Linked DNA regions of Homo sapiens: all the other regions are linked to region 1. The links are contacts of gene promoters, found by promoter capture Hi-C in human tissues and cell types (Jung and others, 2019). All regions are on one chromosome and are shown on one strand. The core of a region is centred on a gene start or on the middle of the fragment in contact, and the rest is flanking DNA. Distances in the headings are between cores, read along the strand shown. Region 1 overlaps SPPL3 (signal peptide peptidase like 3). Region 2 holds the start of MSI1 (musashi RNA binding protein 1). Region 3 holds the start of P2RX4 (purinergic receptor P2X 4). Region 4 holds the start of P2RX7 (purinergic receptor P2X 7).

Region 1 (4,492 bases), core at 1,228-3,727:
ACAAGAATAGCTGAGAGAAGCTGTGTGGGGCAGATTTGCATCTGTAGAGAAAATATGCATTGATGAGGTGGAGGCATTTCTCTGAGGCCCTACCTTGTCCAGACACAGGAAAGATTAATTGAGAGTCTGACACCTTAGAAGGTCAGAAAGAAACATATTCCATCTATTCTCTCTCAGGGCTGCGACCTGTGAGGTTTCATCTACATGACAGGACCACCTGTGCTAGCTGGGCCTCCTCTTCTCTCTCTCTCATAATCTGTCTCACCACCATAACCTGATTTACCACCATAACCTGTCTTGCCACACTCCAAGCCCTCATTCTTTCTGTAACCTCAAGGTGGTATAAAAGCATCAGCCATCTGGCCATTTTTTTTTTTTGAGATCTTATATTTTGTAAGACTTTTGTGCACATTAACAAATCTGTATGCCTTTTCTATTAATCTGCTATTTGTCAGTGGATTTTTCAGCGAGGATTCAGGGGGCACAGAGGAAGTTTTCCCTTGGCCCTGTTACACCAAGTAATGGGCTCACTGCTTGACGCGCTACATCTTTCCACATTAGTATATACTGCTTTTTTCTCATAAAAACAAACAAACAAAAAAACCTACAGAGTATTTCTCCCCAAGTAAACTTGATCTGGTATCATTTTTAGATAAGCTGCACATGAGCTGTCTTACTACAGAGAAATATTAAGACCAGCAGGCTTTATAGGTGAATGATATGGTTTAGCCTTGAACTGGGTAAGGTCCAGATGGCCACTGACCCTGTCAGCTAATTAGTGTCAGTTAGAATGACAACTCATCAACATTCTTCAACTTTAAATTGGGTGTAAGTATAAATTCCAGTTTGGTGTTTTGGTCACTTTGATGTACATTTCACATGAAGTTTATTACAGACACTATATCAAGAAGTATATTAATATTCTGTGAGTGCCTTAATAAGATTTTAGTGTGGCTGAGGTAGAGATCTGGTTATATTTGCCCTAAATTTGTTTCAGGCTAGAATTAATTCAGTTGCAAGGAACAGAACTTTAGGAAATCAACTACTCATTTCTTTATGTCCTAGAGTGGATTAAAAAGGATTTTCTGAGGAAGATTCTAGGCCTGCCTTTAGGAACTTCCACTGCCTGCCTCAGGACAAGGGGAAACATGGGCTTATATTTAGGTATTAGGTTCCTTCATTCTGATAAAAATACGAATGCACCATGAGTGCTGTTAAGACAACTAGGTCTGTATTTAGCTGGCAACATAATACATTTTTGGGCTGCTGCTTTTATATATGTATGTATGTATGTATGTGTGTATATATATACATATATATGTATATATATACACATATATGTGTGTGTGTGTGTGTGTATATATATATATATATTTTTTTTTTTTTTCCTTTTTGAGATGGAGTCTCAGTTTGTGGCCCAGGCTGGAGTGCAGTGGCGCAATCTCGGCTCACTGCAACCTCTGCCTCCCAGTTCAAGCGATTCTCCTGCCTCAGCCTCCTGAGTAGCTGGGATTACAGGCATGCATCAACACGCCTGGCTAATTTTTGTATTTTGAGTAGAGATGGAGTTTCACCATGTTGGCCAGGCTGGTCTTGGAACTCCTGACCTCACGTGATCCTCCCACCTTGGCCTCTGAACATGCTGGGATTACAAGCGTGAGCCACCGTGCCTGGTCTGCTACCAATATTTATTAACAGATCAACATTCAAGAATAACCAGTTTAAGAATTAACAGCCCATTCATTCTCCAGATATTCCAAAATATAACCTTAGACCACACTTAGCAGTAAGATGGTTATCTAAACAACAACATCCTGTTGCCCACTGTGCACCTTCAATTTTGGCAAAACTGCTTTTGCTGAAATACATTTTCATGCAATGCCACCAACTTATATTGAAGGTACTACAATTCATTCAACAAACACTTATTTGAATGCCTACTGTGAGATGAATGAACTTAACATTATATCCTCTTTATGAAGGTCGTTAGGATAAAAGTCTGTCTGATCTTAAGGCCAAGAACAGTTGCGATTCACCTGAACAACTGAGTTCTTTTGATGGAAGGAAGCTGAGTTTTACATTCTTTCTTTTTAAATCTGGCTGCTACAAAGCTTATGGTGGTCCTTGTGAAACACTAGTAACAGGAGTGCTGGCATTATGGTATGCATTTTTACATTTCTTTTTTGGCTCTATTTTGTCTCCACTCATACTTTTAGTTTTCTTTGGCCCCATTTTATTTTTCCTTGAAGTAACTTGCAAAAGTTAGTACATGCTCTGAAATCGGGCAGTGAAGAGCACAAATAAACAATTGTAGGAAGCAAAATGGAGGGGAGAGCAGATCAGTTTATTGAAAGTTATACTCGTTCATCCATTTGCATTCTGATACCTGAGGACACTGTGAATTACTGGAGGAGAAAAGCAAATTGGAATTTTTAACCTTAACATTATTTTTTTCTCAGCTCCAGAAAGGAGTGAAAAAATGAAAAAATAATAAAATTTTAATTTATAAAAAATTTTAAAAAGAAAGTTTTTTGATAATTCTACTATTGAAAGTGAGTACAATGAAGCGGGGACTCACTGGTTCAAGGTAAACATTACATGGTTAAAGTTAGGTTAAGTTAAATATGTGTTCCTAGAAAACTTACAGTGGTTTTATAAATTGAACATTTAATAGTGAATTGATGAAATTCTTAAATATATAAAAAAACTTGTCTACACACGCTGCAATGGACAAAATCATTCCCTACGTCATCTAACAAGTTCAGGCTTCTGTGTATGATGTTTTCTTCAAGTAGGACGAGTTATGGAATGACAAAAAGGGTAGCTCAAAAGTTAATCAACATATTACACACAATTAGAACATCATGACAATTGTGAACCATAGTGACACTTGTTCTGGTGAACCATGGTCTAACTACAATTATATGCACTTAGAATGAAGGGCATCACAATCATATCAAGTATAGTTCTTATTAAAGAACTCAGCATCTCTGCAGGCTTACTAACCTGATGTTGTCTTCCTAGAGTAGGTTTGGGTATACGTAAATGAACTGCCCTCATTACCTAAGAAAGCATTGGTAGGTGCTTGCCTTTACAAAAAAGGAACTAGTTACTCTTGAGTTATAATACAAATGACCAAAAACTAACTCAAGAAAATCTAAATAGCCTTTTTTGGACAATGTTAAGACAGAAACTGTTACTAGAGATAAAGAGGAACATTTTATAAAAGTCAAGAAATAGATAACAATTATAAGCATACAGAAAGTGAAAAGACAAACCCAGAGGCACTTATAACAAAAACCCATTTTCACAATAAAGAAAGAACACTCAAAATTCAACAAGAAAAAGAAAACCCAATTTAAAAATGGACAGAAGAGTTGAAAAGACACCAAAGAAGAGACATAGATGGCAAATGGGCACATGAAAAGATGCTCAACATCAGTAGGCATTAAGAAAATGCAAACCAAAATTATAATGAGATACCACTTCATACCCACCAGAACAGTAGAATAGCTATAATCATAAAGATAGATAATAACAAGTGTTGGTGAAGAAGTGGAGAAATTGGAAACCTCATACATTGCTAGTGGGAATGTACAATAGCATAGCTGCCTTGGAAAACAGAAGCATTTCTTAAAATGTTAAGACTAAGAGTTACCATTAGACCCAGCAATTCTGCTACTAGGTATCTGCTTGAGGGCAATAAATATGTTATGTCTGCACAGAAACTTGTACACAAATGTTCACAGTAACATTATTCATAAAAGCCAAAAAAGGGAAACAACCCAAACGTCTATCAGCCAATGAATGGAAAAACAAAAAGTATTATTCAGTAATAAAAAGGAATGAAATACTGATAACATGCTACAACACAGATAAACTTCAAAAACATGCTAAGTGAAAGAAGCCAGTAACAAAAGGTCACATACTGTATGACACCACTTATACGAGAGGTCCAGAATAGGCAAATCTATAGAGATAAAAGGTAGATTCATGGTTGCCTAGGGCTGGCGGGCAGGGAAAGAGGAATGGGAATGACTGCTAACTGGTACAAATTTTCTTTTGGGATGATAATGTGCTAAAATTGGATTACAGTGACGGCTGAACAATTTTGTAAATAAACTAAAACCCACTGAATTGTATACTTTAAGTGACCAAACTTTATGGTATTTATCTCTCAATAAAGCTGTTAAAATATACTATATAAATTAAATGGACAAAAACCACAGGATCAACTCAATAGAAGCATAAGAACACATGATAAAATCCAATACCCATTCATGATAAAACTCTCCACAAACTAGAAATAAGAGAAATTTCTTCAACCTGATAAAGGGCATTTATGAAAAATGTACAACTAACTACATACTTAATGGGAAATGCTTTCCCTGAAGGATTAGGAACAGGGCAAGGATGGATGTGTGCCTTTGGCACTTCTATTCGACACTGTACAATAAGGGAGAAAAAGGGAAAAAGACAAAGTCTTTCAGAA
Region 2 (4,492 bases), core at 1,006-3,505, 430 kb before region 1:
AGCAGAACAGGCAGCTTGATGGCAGATAATCACCAAAAACAATAGGCCACTGTCTCTCCATTTCCAGGCTTGGGTCACTCAGGCTGCGCCAAGAAGATCCTTTCAGAGCCGGCAAAGTTGAGGCCTGGCCTCATTTGCTCATTACTGCGAGCGGGAGCGGGAGCCACTGGGCAGAGATAACAGGAGCTGGGGACAGGCGGTAATTTGACAAATTCTTGGGCACAAGCAGCTATTGTTGCAGGTAAACGGGAGCCAGGGACTGACCCAAGCAGAGAGGCCCAAGGCTGGGGGACAGCAGGGAAGCATGGAGAGAAGAGATCCACACTATCCCTGCCCCCAGCAGACAGACACCCCCATCACATGGGAGTAACCCCCTCCTCTGACTTTTCTACTTTTCCATCTGCCCTGGAGCCAGCGCCCCCTGCAGGGTCTAAGACACGAAGGAGCTGTGGGACAACAGCAAAATGTTCCATGAGTTTGAATGCCAACCAAGCAGCTTCTCCTAAGATCTAGTCTTCCGAAGGGTCGTTTCCAGGCAAGCTAGAGCCTTTCTCATAAATCCCCTCCGTGGGCAAAGCAGGTCCCTGTCTTCCACACAAAGCAAGGAGCTCATTGACCAAAAGTCGGGGGAGGAGGGAAGGAGAGAGGGAGGGGGCTTCAAGGGATGCTTTGCCATTGGTCTGGATGAAGAGGGGGTGTCGCAGAGCCAAATACTAGTTAGAGTTCACAGAAGCCACCGGGTGGGTCAGTGCTACCCTGACTCACCCAATTTGGGCTGGGGGAGGGACCTAGCCCCACCCCAAGCTCTGCTCTGAGGCATCATGATTAGTACTTCTAGGGAGAGGGTGGCGGCTGCCTCTCCCCTCACCAGGACTAGGGGAGGGGGGATGTAGCATCTCATGGCAGGCCAGGGATTTTTCTCCTCCCTCTCCCCCCCAACTCTAGTGACAAAGTTTCAGAGCATGGCAGCCCTCTTACTCAGAAAAACTCCCTCCTTCCTCATGGACCCCGTCCAGCTGTCCCCTGGGGAGAGTCCTGACCCTCTCCTCCGGCAGCCTCCCTCTCCCAAAGGACCCCCGAAGCCCCGAGGGCCACTCACTGTTTTGGAGTCGAGCTCGTGCCGCGATTGCGCCAGCACTTTATCCACCCCCGCCTGGTCCATGAAAGTGACGAAGCCGAAACCCCTGCGCGCCGTAGTGAGGGAGAGGCAGATGGTTACAAGGCAGTGAGTGGCGGGTGGAGGGGGGCGAGCCGGGAGCAGGAGGAGGGGGTGAGGGGCTCACCTGGATCTCTTGGTCAGGGGGTCCCGCATCACCAGACACTCCTTCACCTCCCCGAACTGGCCGAAGTATTCGCGCAGCCCTTCTGTAACCACACACCCGCCTTCGGACCAGCCCGGGCCCCGCGCCCTTCCCCCCCCCCCGTCCTTTGCCCCCGGTGACCCCGGAGCGGCCCGGCCGCCCCCGCGCCAAGCTGCCCGCGCGTTCTCCACTGCCGCCGCCCCCCACCGCCCTCGCCCCGTTCCCGCTGAGCCTCCTGGCGCCCACCGGGGCCCCGGGAAGCCGAGGGCCGAGCTGGGCTGGAAGGGGGACGGCTCCGGCCGGGTTCCCGCCGCTCCGGGAGCAGCCTCACAAAAGTTTGAGCCGCAGGTGCGAGCGGAGTTGGCGCTGCCGCCGGCGGGTCCCGGGGGCCCAGCCCACCCCCCGATACCCCCTGAACCCCTCATCTGCTCCCCTCCACCCGCTGGGCCGGGTGCGCTCGCGGATCGCCCTGCGCTCTCGGGGTCTCCGGGCGGGGCGCGAAAGAGGGCGCGAGGGCGCCCGGGGTCAGCAGGGCGCAGGGCCGGGCTGGGGTGTCCGGGTCCGGGGCGCCGGGGGGTCCGGGGTGCCCTGCCGGACCGGCGGGCGCTCCCGGGCTCGCTCACCCTGCGTAGTCTGCCAACTGAGTCCCCCGATGAACATCTTGCTGCGGGAGGAGGAGAGACACAAAGGGCCCGCGTGAGCGCCGGGCGCCAGGGCGCAGGGGGCGCGGGCCCGGGCTCCGGGGAGGCCCGGCCGGACCCGGATCGGCCATGTTGGCGGGGCCGGGGCGGGCGCGGGCCAAGCAGGCCGGGCCGGGCCGTACCAGGGGTCGTGCGGCGAGTCCGGGGAGGCGAGGCCGGGCTGGGGCGCGTCAGTCTCCATCGGGAGCCGCGGGCGGCGCGGGCAGCGGAGCGGCGGCGGCGGCGGCGGCGGCGGCGCTCGGCGCGGGGCAGATGAGGAGCGCGGCGAAGGGGGCCGGACGGACAGGCCATGCTGCCCCCTCCCCCGACCCCGCTCGGGCGGGCGGGCGGGGACGGCCGAGGGGAGGGCCCGCCGGGGGCCGACCTGCCGGCTCCTCCCCCCGCCGCCCTGCGCGCATAAAGCCCCGCGCTCGCCCGCGAGCCCGGGCGCCCGCGGAGGCGGCGGCGCCGGGACCCCCTTCCCGCGGGGCTCCTGGGTCTCCGGGGCCGAGCGAGACCCCCGAATCCCGGTGCGGGCCGGGACCAGGGCGCGGCCGCACCCCCCACCCACCCCGGCGCGGGGGCCCGGCCGCGGGAACGCCCTCCCGGAATGAAGCGCTTCCCGGTGCCTTCAAGGTAGCTCGGTTCCGGATCGGGAACCCCCCCGGTCTTCCCTCTCAGGTCCCTGCTGTCCAGAATTGAAGAGAACCCCAATCTCCTCGGGTCGGGCGGGAGATAGCCCTAGTGCTCCCCAGTCCCCACATGCTCCATTTCCCCAGTCGGAGCGAGAAGCCGCCCTCAGAGCCCCCAGTTTCCTCCCAACCTAATTTACAGCCCCCCACCCCCACCCCAGGGCTCTAATTTAGAGCCCTCGCTCCGTTCCCAGGATCCCATATCCAGTTTGGGGGACCCACTCAGTGCCTCGCGTCCCGAGTGGGGAACCTCCATCAGCACCCCAGTAGAAACCGTATCCTCTTCCCCAATCCGTCCTCAGCCCTTGGTGTCCAAAGTGAGAGTCCCCCTTAGTTTCCCCAAATCCCTGCCGTCCACATTAGTGGACCCTATGGTCTGTTGAGAAAATCCCGCGCCCCAAGCCCGGGTTCTCAGTTTGCCGCCACCCCCACCTCCCGGTGTGAGGAGTCTCCCCTGGTTCTCTCCCTCCCTGGCCGGTTTTTGTGAGATCCATTCAGACTCCTGTCCTGATTCGGGAAACCCGGTTCCAGACACTCACCACCCCCACCACACCGAGGCTGGAGGAAAAGGCAGTGCCTCTTAGAGCCTCCTGTTTCCAGTTTAGGAGCCCAACGCCTCAGCTGTGCACCGTCCCCTCCGAATGACCCCCTTCTTTTGCAGAGGTCTAAGCTCCACCCCATCCCATTGGAAGAGCCTAAACTACCTACCCACTGCATTTGGAATGACTTCCCTCAGTCCCTCTTATTTTGAGGCTACTCCCCGTGAAGGCAAACACCTTCCTTTCTACCCCCATCTTCTGGGTCTCTGGGATCCCCCAGTACTTGCACCCAAGGCTCCTTGGAGTCACCTTACGTACCCCTAAAATTCCCTCCCTCCAGCCTGGGAACAACCCTGAGAAAGTATTCTGGTTCACCAGGGGAGCTGCGGGGCCACTCTCCTTATCCCCACCTCTCCTTATCCCCGCCTCTCCATATCCCCACCTCTCCATATTCCCACCTCTCCATATCCAAGCCTTAGGACCCTTCACTTCCCCAGCTGAAACCAGCCAAAAAAGGATCAAACCAGGAAGCTTAGGTGGCCAACACCCCTTCTCCCCATCCCTGCTGGGGGTCTCAGTGCCACACAAGCCCCTCCCTCCCAACTCACCTTCTACTCCTTCCCCCATCCCTACCTTAATCCATCCGGTGTAATCCAGTGACAACCCATGTTGACAAGCCCTTTGCTGTTCACCTTCACATTCCATCCTGAATTCAACACCTTTTATTCCTGGGCATCATAACTCTGACCTCTGGAAGGGTGCCCATCCCCCTCTTGATAGCCCTCCTTCCCTCTCCCCACCCCAACCATCAGGCAGAGAAGAAAGTGAGAGACTTACAGTAATGGTTTCCTTGGGGACCTTCTGGGAATGCTCAGCAGGTATATCCTGCCACCCTGTGAGCATAACACTAGAAACAAACTTGCTTTTTCCTGTTTGTGTCCCCTACTCTGCCCCACAGTTTCTCAGCATCCCCTGGACTGGGGACTGGAGGGCCACCCACACAAGGCATTTCTTACCATTCCGACACAAAAGCATTCCAGTTTGTGTTGTAGCAGAGACACAGATGAGGGTGAGCAGGTAGCCTCTGCGGTATTAGGGAGGTGACTCTTCTTAGGTCTGAACTTAAAAAGGGTCATTGGAGAGGTGCGGGGAGTAGGGATCTTCCAGTGTTCCTGGACTTTGGTTTGTGTGCTGGTGCTGCTGGGCAGATGAGCTTGAAGGATAGGAAATGGGTCCTTTCCGGCAGTGGCGACCTACCCACGAGAACATGCCTCTCGACA
Region 3 (4,492 bases), core at 1,279-3,778, 410 kb after region 1:
GCCAAAGTGCTGGGATTAAAGGTGTAAGCCACGTGCCTGGTGTTTTTTGGGGTTTGTTTGTTTGTTTTGAGATGGAGTCTGTCACCCAGGCTGGAGTGCAGTGGCACAATTTCAGCTCACTGCAACCTCCGCCTCCCAGGTTCAAGCAATTCTTCCTGCCTCAGCCTCCCGAGTAGCTGGGATTACAGGCACCTGCCATAAGGCCCAGCTAAGTTTTTTATATTTTCAGTAGAGATGAGGTTTCACCATGTTGGCCAGGCTGGTCTCCAGCTCCTGACCTCACATGATCATCCGCCTGCCTCGGCCTCCCAAAGTGCTGCAGTTATAGGTGTGAGCCACCGTGCCCAGCCATGTTTTGATTCTTAAGGAAATGATTTTTAAGTCCCCTTCCAATGAGGATTTAGCAATGGAGTTTTCTTCTTCTACAGATAATTTGAGGCTTCCCAATTGCACCAAACTCCATTTGGGCAGATACCTCACCTGTCCACTCCATAGCCCTAGCATCAAGAAAAGTGCCAAGCACACAACAGGCACTCAGTAAATTTCTGTCAAATGAATGAATAAAATACCACCACCTTTTCCTGAGACCATTTTGGACCAAGGCTGGCATGGGCATCTCTGTTCCTCCCTCTAACTTAAGAATTCCATCTCTTAGAGGCAGATGCTGCCTGTTTTCTGCAAATTTTATTATTCACCTTTCTATATTTGGAAAAACAAGTTGGTGTGGCTTACTTAGGAATCTCATATCCAGGAAATGAGCTAAAAATGTTGTATCAAAGATTATGCATAGGATCCACAAACTAAGAAGCAAGCAGATGAGAGCGGTTAGAGACATCGTGGTATATTTTCCGGAAGAAATGGTCCATGGATTAAAAATTGTCATTATGATGAGTCTGCAGTAACACAGAAACCACGTAGTGCGAATCAGAAAATGAAAAGCACAGCCATTGACTATGATTACAAACCAAAACTTTATACCAATTACCTGTTGGAATTTATGCTGCATGAAGGCAGGATATTTTGCTTGTCCTGTTCACTGGACAGTACTTGGCATAAAGGATGTGCTTATGAATATTTTCTGGGAAACTAAATATAACATTCACCTGTGAAAACACATCTGGGCCAGGCGCAGTGGCTCACGCCTGTAATCCCAACACTTTGGGAGCCCGAGGCGGGTGGATCATGGGAGGTCAGGAGCTGGAGATCAGCCTGGCCAACATGGTGAAAACCTGTCTCTAATAAAAATACAAAAATTAGCTGGGCGTGGTGGCGGGCACTTGTAATCCCAGCTACTCAAGAGGCTGAGGCAGGAGAATTGCTTGAACCTGGGAGGCGGAGGTTACAGTGAGCCGAGATCGCGCCACTGCACTCCAGACTGGACAAGAGTGAAACTCCGTCTCAAAAAAAAAAAGAAAAAGAAAAAGAAAAAACGTATCTGAAGGGAATGAACAAATACACATGCGGAAAATTGTATTCATGGGGTAGAACGGTGGCTGTTTCCCCCCCTTTCACTATTTTCTCTCCTAAAGTTGTGATAGCATTTTCTCAGTGGAAAGGATGACCACAGAATTATCTCCCCTGGGCTGCAACTAAGGAAGTATTTGGAGTGAGAATGCGACCAGGCTTCAAATCCAGGAGGGGTATTTTACAGGGCGTGTGGCTCTCACCCAGGGCTCACAGGACACCTGATATTTAGGCTGTTCCCCAAGAGGCTAAGGACAGCGCGGCCCCAGCTCCCCCAACCACAGCTGCCCAAGTTTAGGAGCCCGCACTCGTGAGCGATGGCTACTCCGCACAGCCCCGGGGTCCTCTACGGAAATCCCTGGCACCTATCAGTACCCCTAAGGGAGGTCGCTCGTTACCCCTCACTTGAACTCTGTCCCAAATGGGAGGTCACTCTCTCTTCGCGGACCCCATCTTCCCCGAAAGGGTCTCTTGTTCTCTCTGGCCCTCCTGAGAAGGTCATTACTCCCCAACTCGCCTTTTTTGTTGTTTTTTGGTTTCTGGTTTATTGAGGCAGGGTCTCGCTTCATCTCCCAGACTGGAGTGCAGTGGCGCGATCACAGCTCACACGGCAGCCTCTACCTCCTGGGCTCAAGCGATCCTCTCACCTCAGCCTCCCTGGGACTACAGGCGAGCGCCACTACGCCCGCTTTTTTTTTTTTTTTTTTTTTTTTTTTGTATTTTTGATAGAGACGAGGTCTCGCTATGTTGTCCAGGCTGGTCTCTAACTCAAGATTCCTCTCACCTCGGCCTCCGCAAGTGCTGGGATGACAGGTGTGAGCCACCGCCCCCGGCCCCTCGCCCGCCTTTTGAAGGAGCCTTTCGTCCTCAAGGGCGAGGCCACTCCCCCCCCGCGAGTTCCATGCCCCCTAGAGGGTCATCGTTCCCGACGGGGAGGTGGCGCCCTCCCCCGGGCCCCGGGCCCCGACCGCCCGTGCTGCCTCCTTCCGGGCCCTCCTCCGCGATGACGGCGCCGCCAGCAGGCCAGGCGGACTGGGCGGGGCTCCGAGCGGGGACTGGGACCCAGACCGACTAGGGGACTGGGAGCGGGCGGCGCGGCCATGGCGGGCTGCTGCGCCGCGCTGGCGGCCTTCCTGTTCGAGTACGACACGCCGCGCATCGTGCTCATCCGCAGCCGCAAAGTGGGGCTCATGAACCGCGCCGTGCAACTGCTCATCCTGGCCTACGTCATCGGGTGAGCGTGGGGCCGCGCGGGGGGCGCGGCGGGTGCTGCCCTCGCGTCCGCGCCGTGCGGCGGCTCATCCTGGCCTCGGTCACCTGGGCGAGTCCGGGAGCGGCGAGCCGAGGCGGTGACACCTTCCCTGGGCCCCAGCCGCCGCGCCGGGGCCCCGGGGGCGGGAGGCTGCTTGCTGCTGTTTTAAAACCACAGCCTGGGCCAGGCGCGGTGGCGCAAGCCTGTAATCCGAGCACTTTGGGAGCCCGAGGCGGGACCATCGCCTGAGCCCAGGAGTTCGAAACCAATTTGGGCAACATCGTGGGACCCCGTCTCTGCAAAAAATTAAAAATCATCCGGGCCTGGTGGCGCGCGCCTGGGGTCCCAGCTACTCAGGAGGCTGAGGTGGGAGGATCGCTTGAGCCCAAGAGGCTGAGGCTGCAGTGAGCTATGATCACACCACTTAACTCGAGCCTGGGAGACAGTCCGAGACCCGTCTGTTTACAAAATAAATAAAGGCAAAGCCTGGCTAGGCTGTTACCCTCTCCTGCCTGACCCCCCATAGTGCCCCTTGGCTGTAGGGGCTTCGCCCTGAACGTCTCAATCTTCGCTCTCCACTTCCCATCCTGCTGATTTGCTGACAAAACCAAAGCTTGGAATTTCCGCTTGGTTCCTTCTGGGTGGGTGGCTTTTGGTCATTTCTTTTGATCACTATGCGGTGTCACTATGTGGTAGTAGCGAGGTCAGACTGTAGCGAGTGTTTAAAGTTTGCTTCCTTTGTTTTCTGGGCTTGTGGGGCTTTTTGTGGTACCTGCCCTAGCCTAGTCAGTCATTCCCCATGCTGCCCCCTTAGGCTAGAGATGCCCTACCGCCCTCAGGCCTCGCTGAATGTGCCATTGTACTTGAAGGCACCTGTTACTTTTTTAATTTTTTTATTTTTTTGAGACGGAATTTCTCTCTTGTCGCCCGGGCTGGAGTGCAATGGCACGATCTCGGCTCACTGCAACCTCTGCCTCCCGGGTTCAAGCAATTCTCCTGTCTCAGTCTCCTGAGTGGCTGGGATTACAAGTGCCCGCCACCACGCCCGGCCAATTTTTGTATTTTTTAGTAGAGACGGGGTTTCAGGCTGGTCCTGAACTGACCTCAGGTGATCCGCCCACCTCAGCCTCCCAAAATGCTGGGATTACAGGCGTGAGCCCCCACGCGGGGCTGGCACCTGTTACAATTGAATACAACGCGAGAGAGAAGATGATAATTACCTTGCCACCTGGGGCCACTTTAAAGGCTTACCTGGGGTGTTCTGGTGTCTACAGCTGCTGGGCTGACACGTATTGCCTAGTGCAGTGGTCTCCAAACTGCACATTGGAACCATCTGGAAATCTTTGGCTCCCATCCCCAGACCCTTTTTTATTTTTTTGATGGAGTCTCCCTCTGTCGCCCAGGCTGGAGTGCAGTGGTGCAATCTTGGCTCGCTGCAACCTCCACCTCCCTGGTTCAAGCGATTCTCCTGCCTCAGCCTCCTGAGTAGCTGGGATTACAGGCACCCACCACCATGCCCGGCTAATTTTTGTATTTTTAGTAGGGACAGGGTTTCGCCATGTTGGCCAGGCTGGTCTCGAACTCCTGGCCTCAGGTGATCCACCCGCCGCAGCCTCCCAGAGTGCTGGGATTACAGGCGTGAGCCACCGCGCCCAGACGCATCCCCAGACCTTCTGATTTAATTGCTGCAGAGTATGATCGGCTGCCCAGGTGATTCTCATGTTCAGCAACGTTTCGGAACCAATGAACTGTGTTTCCCAAGTTTACCTGATCATG
Region 4 (4,492 bases), core at 773-3,272, 330 kb after region 1:
AGAAAGACAAGAAAATAGATGTCTTTGAGTGGTAGCAAGAGCAACACTGAAGTGATTTGCCTATTCTGGACATTTCCTATAAATGGAGTCGTAAAAGATGTATCCTTTTGTGTCTGGCCTCTTTCACTTAAGCGTAGTGTTTTCAAGGTTCATCCATGTTGGAGCATGGGTCAGTGTTTCATTCCTTTTTATGGCTGAATAATATTCCCTTGTATGGGCTTTCGTGCTTTTGTGTATCCATCCATCAGCTGATGGACATTTGACTTGTCTGCCTGTTCACTGCCATATCTACTATTCCTGGTGCTCTTGGGAATGAGTGAATGAATAGCATAAACAGAGCTGTCCAGGGTCACAGAGCTGGTAAGATGTGAAGCCAGGATCGGAAGCCAGGCCATTAGTCCCCTAGAGCCTATGTTCTAAGCATCAGGCTTTACCTGTGAATCTCCTCTTTTTACAGATGAAGATGACCGTATCACTCAGATTCCCGGCAGGAAAGCAATGGCATACTCAAGTGGGGTAACTAATGATGGAACCATTTACAAAGGTGTGGACAGAGTTAAGAAAAAGCAATAGGAGATAGTGAGCTTCCTGGGGCTGGTAAGAGTGGGGAGCCCTTACCACTCCCAGGACTAAAGGAGGGAGTGGTGCCCAGAAGCCCTGCCTATATGCAACTGAGAAGGGCAGGGCCAGGGAGTCACGTCCATCCTCACTGCTCTCCAGTCTCCTGAACTGGAAGCCAGAAGGTGAGGGGAACCCTGATGCAGTTTGTATGTGTGAGAAAGTACAATTAGTTTAGACTGAAAAACTGAAAATCTACCCGGCCACTTAGCAGGCTGGAATAACAGAAAGGGATCAAGCCAGCTGTAAAGATAACAGGGAACAATAATTCTCTGTAGCTGTAAAGTGATAATACAACCCTGCATCTTTGAGTGACTGCTGAAACATTGTCCTTTAAAATCAGAGACCTTCAGAAACTTTGCTGTTTGAAATTACATGACTAAGACTGAAATATTCCAATTTTGCCTGGAAGATTTAAGTCATCTTGACACAGAGAAGCAGCCTCAATTTACAACTCAGGAGCAGAGCTTCAGATAAAGATTTTCTGGACACATTTGACATGTATCTTAGCTATGTTGCTTCCTAGGAAACAGGGCCCTGGGTCCTCTTTGCAATCCAGACTGAAGTTGACTGCTTTGTACAAACCTGTTTTGCTTTGAGTCCATCAAAACATGACTTCATTTAGATTTTATCTCAACTCCACTTTCCTCGGAATCCTATAATAAATTGCTGTTTTCCTTTGTTTGGTGATGTGCGTAGCTCTTCTGGTGGGTGGTGTCCCTCACTGAATAGGTCAACAAACCTAACTTTGTTGGACTGCCACTGTGTCCCTGGTGATCTTTGGCTGATTGGTCTAGGTCATAGATCGACCTGCCGGGGTGCAGAGGAGGGTGGAGAGTAACTCAGAGGGTCAAGCATGAAAGATCTGGCAGAAAAATAAAGCCCCTCCACCCCCACCACCCCTACCCCTGCAAATCTGATTTCCCCCACCAACTGCAGACCAGAGTATTATAAGGGGCGGTGGAAGAAGAGGGGGAGATCTTCATTTACCCAGAGCTCCTATACATCAGGGGCTGAATAAAGGGTTGTAGAAATGAATGAATCAATCTCTGAGTGGGGCTTCAGGCAATGGAAAGATCTCAGTCCTTTTCTGAGGCATAATGGAAGCTCCCAGTCTTGTGACATTTGCAAGGCTGCCCCTTTCTCCCAAGAGACATGAGACCAAAAAAGTGAAAGGAAAGGGGGGAAAAGGGAGAATTCTAAAAATGCCCATCCTCTGAACACCATCTTTGTGTAGGCATCTGGGGGAGGCCAGCTGGGGTGAGGTCATCTGCCAGCCAGGCCCGTAGGACTTGGCGCTTCTTGTTTATCACAGCCACATGTGGGGCCACTGCCAGGGCCCGCCCCAACTCTGCAGTCATTGGAGGAGCTTGAAGTTAAAGACTCCTGCTAAAAACCAGTACGTTTCATTTTGCAGTTACTGGGAGGGGGCTTGCTGTGGCCCTGTCAGGAAGAGTAGAGCTCTGGTCCAGCTCCGCGCAGGGAGGGAGGCTGTCACCATGCCGGCCTGCTGCAGCTGCAGTGATGTTTTCCAGTATGAGACGAACAAAGTCACTCGGATCCAGAGCATGAATTATGGCACCATTAAGTGGTTCTTCCACGTGATCATCTTTTCCTACGTTTGGTAAGTGGGATCTGGGGAGGACCCAGATCTCTGCAGTGGCCGACAGCACAGAAAGCCCCAGCGGGCAGCTTCAGGTGCACATTCTGAATCTCACATGGTTTTCGAATCTGAGACGTGCTCTCACAGCCAGCTGGGCGGGAGGGAGGAAGCAGCAGCAGGCAAGAGGAAACGGTGCCAGGCTGCAGCAGAGAGAAGCCACAGGACAAGCGGGATTCCTTTCTGCTCTACTTCAGGCCCGCCAGGGCGCGCAGGGCAGGGCGTGCCTGGGGAAGGTAGGAAAGCGCAGGGCAACACCCTGGATCCCCAGGGAGGAGGCGAGGATCTCAGGGCACGCCTGGTGATCATGCTGGCATCTGAGTCACCATGCTTGGGAGGAATAGGACCAGGCTTGAAAATGTGTTATAACTTTAGGTCCTCACCAACGTCAGGAAGGCCCTGCTTTTTGGTTTTTGTTTCTTCTAAAAGAAACTTACTGAGATATAATTTATACACCATACAATTGACCCATTTAAAGGGTACCATTTAATGATTTTCAGATTATTCCCAGAGTTGTGCAACCATCCCCACAATCAATTTTAGAATATTTTAATCGACTCAAAAGGAATCCCACACTCCTTCACCATCATTTCCAACACTGTTCCTCCTCCTTCCCACCCATCAATTTCCTTTCTGCCTCTATGGATTTGCCGATTCTGGACATTTCATATAAATGGAATCACATAATATGTGGTCCTTTGTGGCACTTAGCGTGTTTTCAATGCTCATCCATGTTGTAGCATGTGTTGATACTTCATTCAATTTTTTTTTTTAAAGAGACGGGGTCTCACTATTTTGTCCAGGCTGGTCTCAAACTCCTGGACTCAAGTGATCTGCCTGCCTCGGCCTCCCAAAGTGTCAGGATTACAGGCGTGAGCCATTGCACCCGGCTGATACTTCATTCCTTTTTACGGCTGAGTAGTACTCCATTGCATGGATAGACCACTTTTTTCTATCCATTCATCCATTGATGGACATTGGGGTTGTTTCTCTTTTTTGGCTATCATGAATAATGCCACATGAACATTTGTGTACAAGGTTTTATGTGGATATATATTCTCCTTTCTCTCGAATATGTACCTAAGAGTAAAAATTGCTAGGTCATATGTTAACTATGTTTCACCTTTGGGGGGAATGTGGAGCTGAATTTCACAGCAGCTGCAGTTTTTTACATTCCTATCAGCAGAGTATGAGGGATCCAATTTCTCCACATCCTCACCAACGCTTGTTATCGTCTGTCTTTTTGGGTTTTGTTGTTGTCATTTTGTTTTTGTCTTTGAGATGAAGTCTTGCTCTGTTGCCCAGGCTGGAGTGCAGTGGCGCAATCTTGGCTCACTGCAACCTCCACCTCCCCGGTTCAAGCGATTCTCCTGCCTCAGCCTCATGAGTAGCTGGGATTACAGGTGTGCGTCACCACTCCTCACTAATTTTTGTATTTTTAGTAGAGATGAGGTTTCGCCATGTAGGCCAGGCTGGTCTCAAACTCCTGACCTCAAGTGATCCGCCCACCTTGGCCTCCCAAAGTGCTGGGATTACAGGCATGAGCCGCCACGCCCGGCTGATTGTCTGTCTTTTTTATTATAGCCATGCTAGTGGGTGTGAAGTGGTAGTTCATTGTGGTTGTGATTTGAATTTCCCTGATGGTGAGTGCCTCTTATTCTCTGTGCTGATTGATAATGATGATGAAGGCAATTTGTATCTATAGAGTGGCAGTGTAGTTTACTAAGAGTTAGGGTAACTTATTTCATAGTACTGGCTATGTCTTCTGGGCCAAGTCATTAACTTCTCTGAGCCTCAGTTTCTGCATCTGTTCATAGGGTTGTGGCAATTAACCAAAAAAAAAAGGCATGAACAGCCCTTATCATGATGACTGACATAGGATAAGAGCTCCATAACTAGTATCTATTTTTAAAAATAATCTTTTTAAGTCTGGGAGTGGTGGCTCACACCTGTAATCCCAACACTTTGGGAGGCCAAGGCGGGTGGATCACGAAGTCAGGAGTTTGAGACCAGCCTGGCCAATATGGTGAAACCCCATCTCTACTAAAAATACAAAAATTAGTGGGGAGTGGTGGTGCACACCTGTAATCCCAGCTACTAGGGAGGCTGAGGCAGGAGAATCGCTTGAACCCGGAGGCGGAGGTTGCAGTGAGCCAAGATCAAGCCACTGCACTCCAGCCTGGGTGACAGAGCAAGACTCCATCTCAAAATAAT

What was found. Contacts are between HindIII fragments. The study calls those that stand out against the background at their distance.
Region 2: the fragment with the promoter of MSI1 here is called in contact with a fragment that was not itself captured in region 1 in 4 of the 25 tissues and cell types used here (bladder, dorsolateral prefrontal cortex, liver and 1 more).
Region 3: the fragment with the promoter of P2RX4 here is called in contact with a fragment that was not itself captured in region 1 in 8 of the 25 tissues and cell types used here (H1 embryonic stem cells, dorsolateral prefrontal cortex, hippocampus and 5 more).
Region 4: a contact is called between the fragment with the promoter of P2RX7 here and a fragment that was not itself captured in region 1, in 8 of the 25 tissues and cell types used here (H1 embryonic stem cells, IMR-90 fibroblasts, bladder and 5 more).

The regions. Positions count from the first base shown.
Region 1 is chr12:120,801,059-120,805,550 of GRCh38, forward strand. The region is part of intron 2 of SPPL3 (signal peptide peptidase like 3); the gene reads right to left. Among named protein-coding and RNA genes, the nearest start is that of ACADS, 77 kb to the left of the region's middle. The HindIII fragment of the contact is 8,897 bases long and covers 1-4,492 here.
Region 2 is chr12:120,366,909-120,371,400 of GRCh38, forward strand. It overlaps MSI1 (musashi RNA binding protein 1), which reads right to left and starts at 2,256. Exons shown (of 15, transcript NM_002442.4): 1 at 2,125-2,256; 2 at 1,925-1,965; 3 at 1,284-1,365; 4 at 1,100-1,184. The coding sequence starts at 2,183. It also overlaps the pseudogene RPS27P25. The HindIII fragment of the contact is 19,353 bases long and covers 1-4,492 here.
Region 3 is chr12:121,207,601-121,212,092 of GRCh38, forward strand. P2RX4 (purinergic receptor P2X 4) reads left to right here and starts at 2,529. Exons shown (of 12, transcript NM_002560.3): 1 at 2,529-2,698. The coding sequence starts at 2,565. LOC105370032 (a long non-coding RNA gene) reads right to left here and starts at 2,472. Exons shown (of 4, transcript XR_001749352.3): 1 at 2,249-2,472. RefSeq lists a silencer at 2,235-2,974 and an enhancer at 3,305-3,354. The HindIII fragment of the contact is 10,060 bases long and covers 1-4,492 here.
Region 4 is chr12:121,130,854-121,135,345 of GRCh38, forward strand. P2RX7 (purinergic receptor P2X 7) reads left to right here and starts at 2,023. Exons shown (of 13, transcript NM_002562.6): 1 at 2,023-2,242. The coding sequence starts at 2,118. All of the region lies in intron 2 of LOC105370032 (a long non-coding RNA gene), which reads right to left. The HindIII fragment of the contact is 21,026 bases long and covers 1-4,492 here.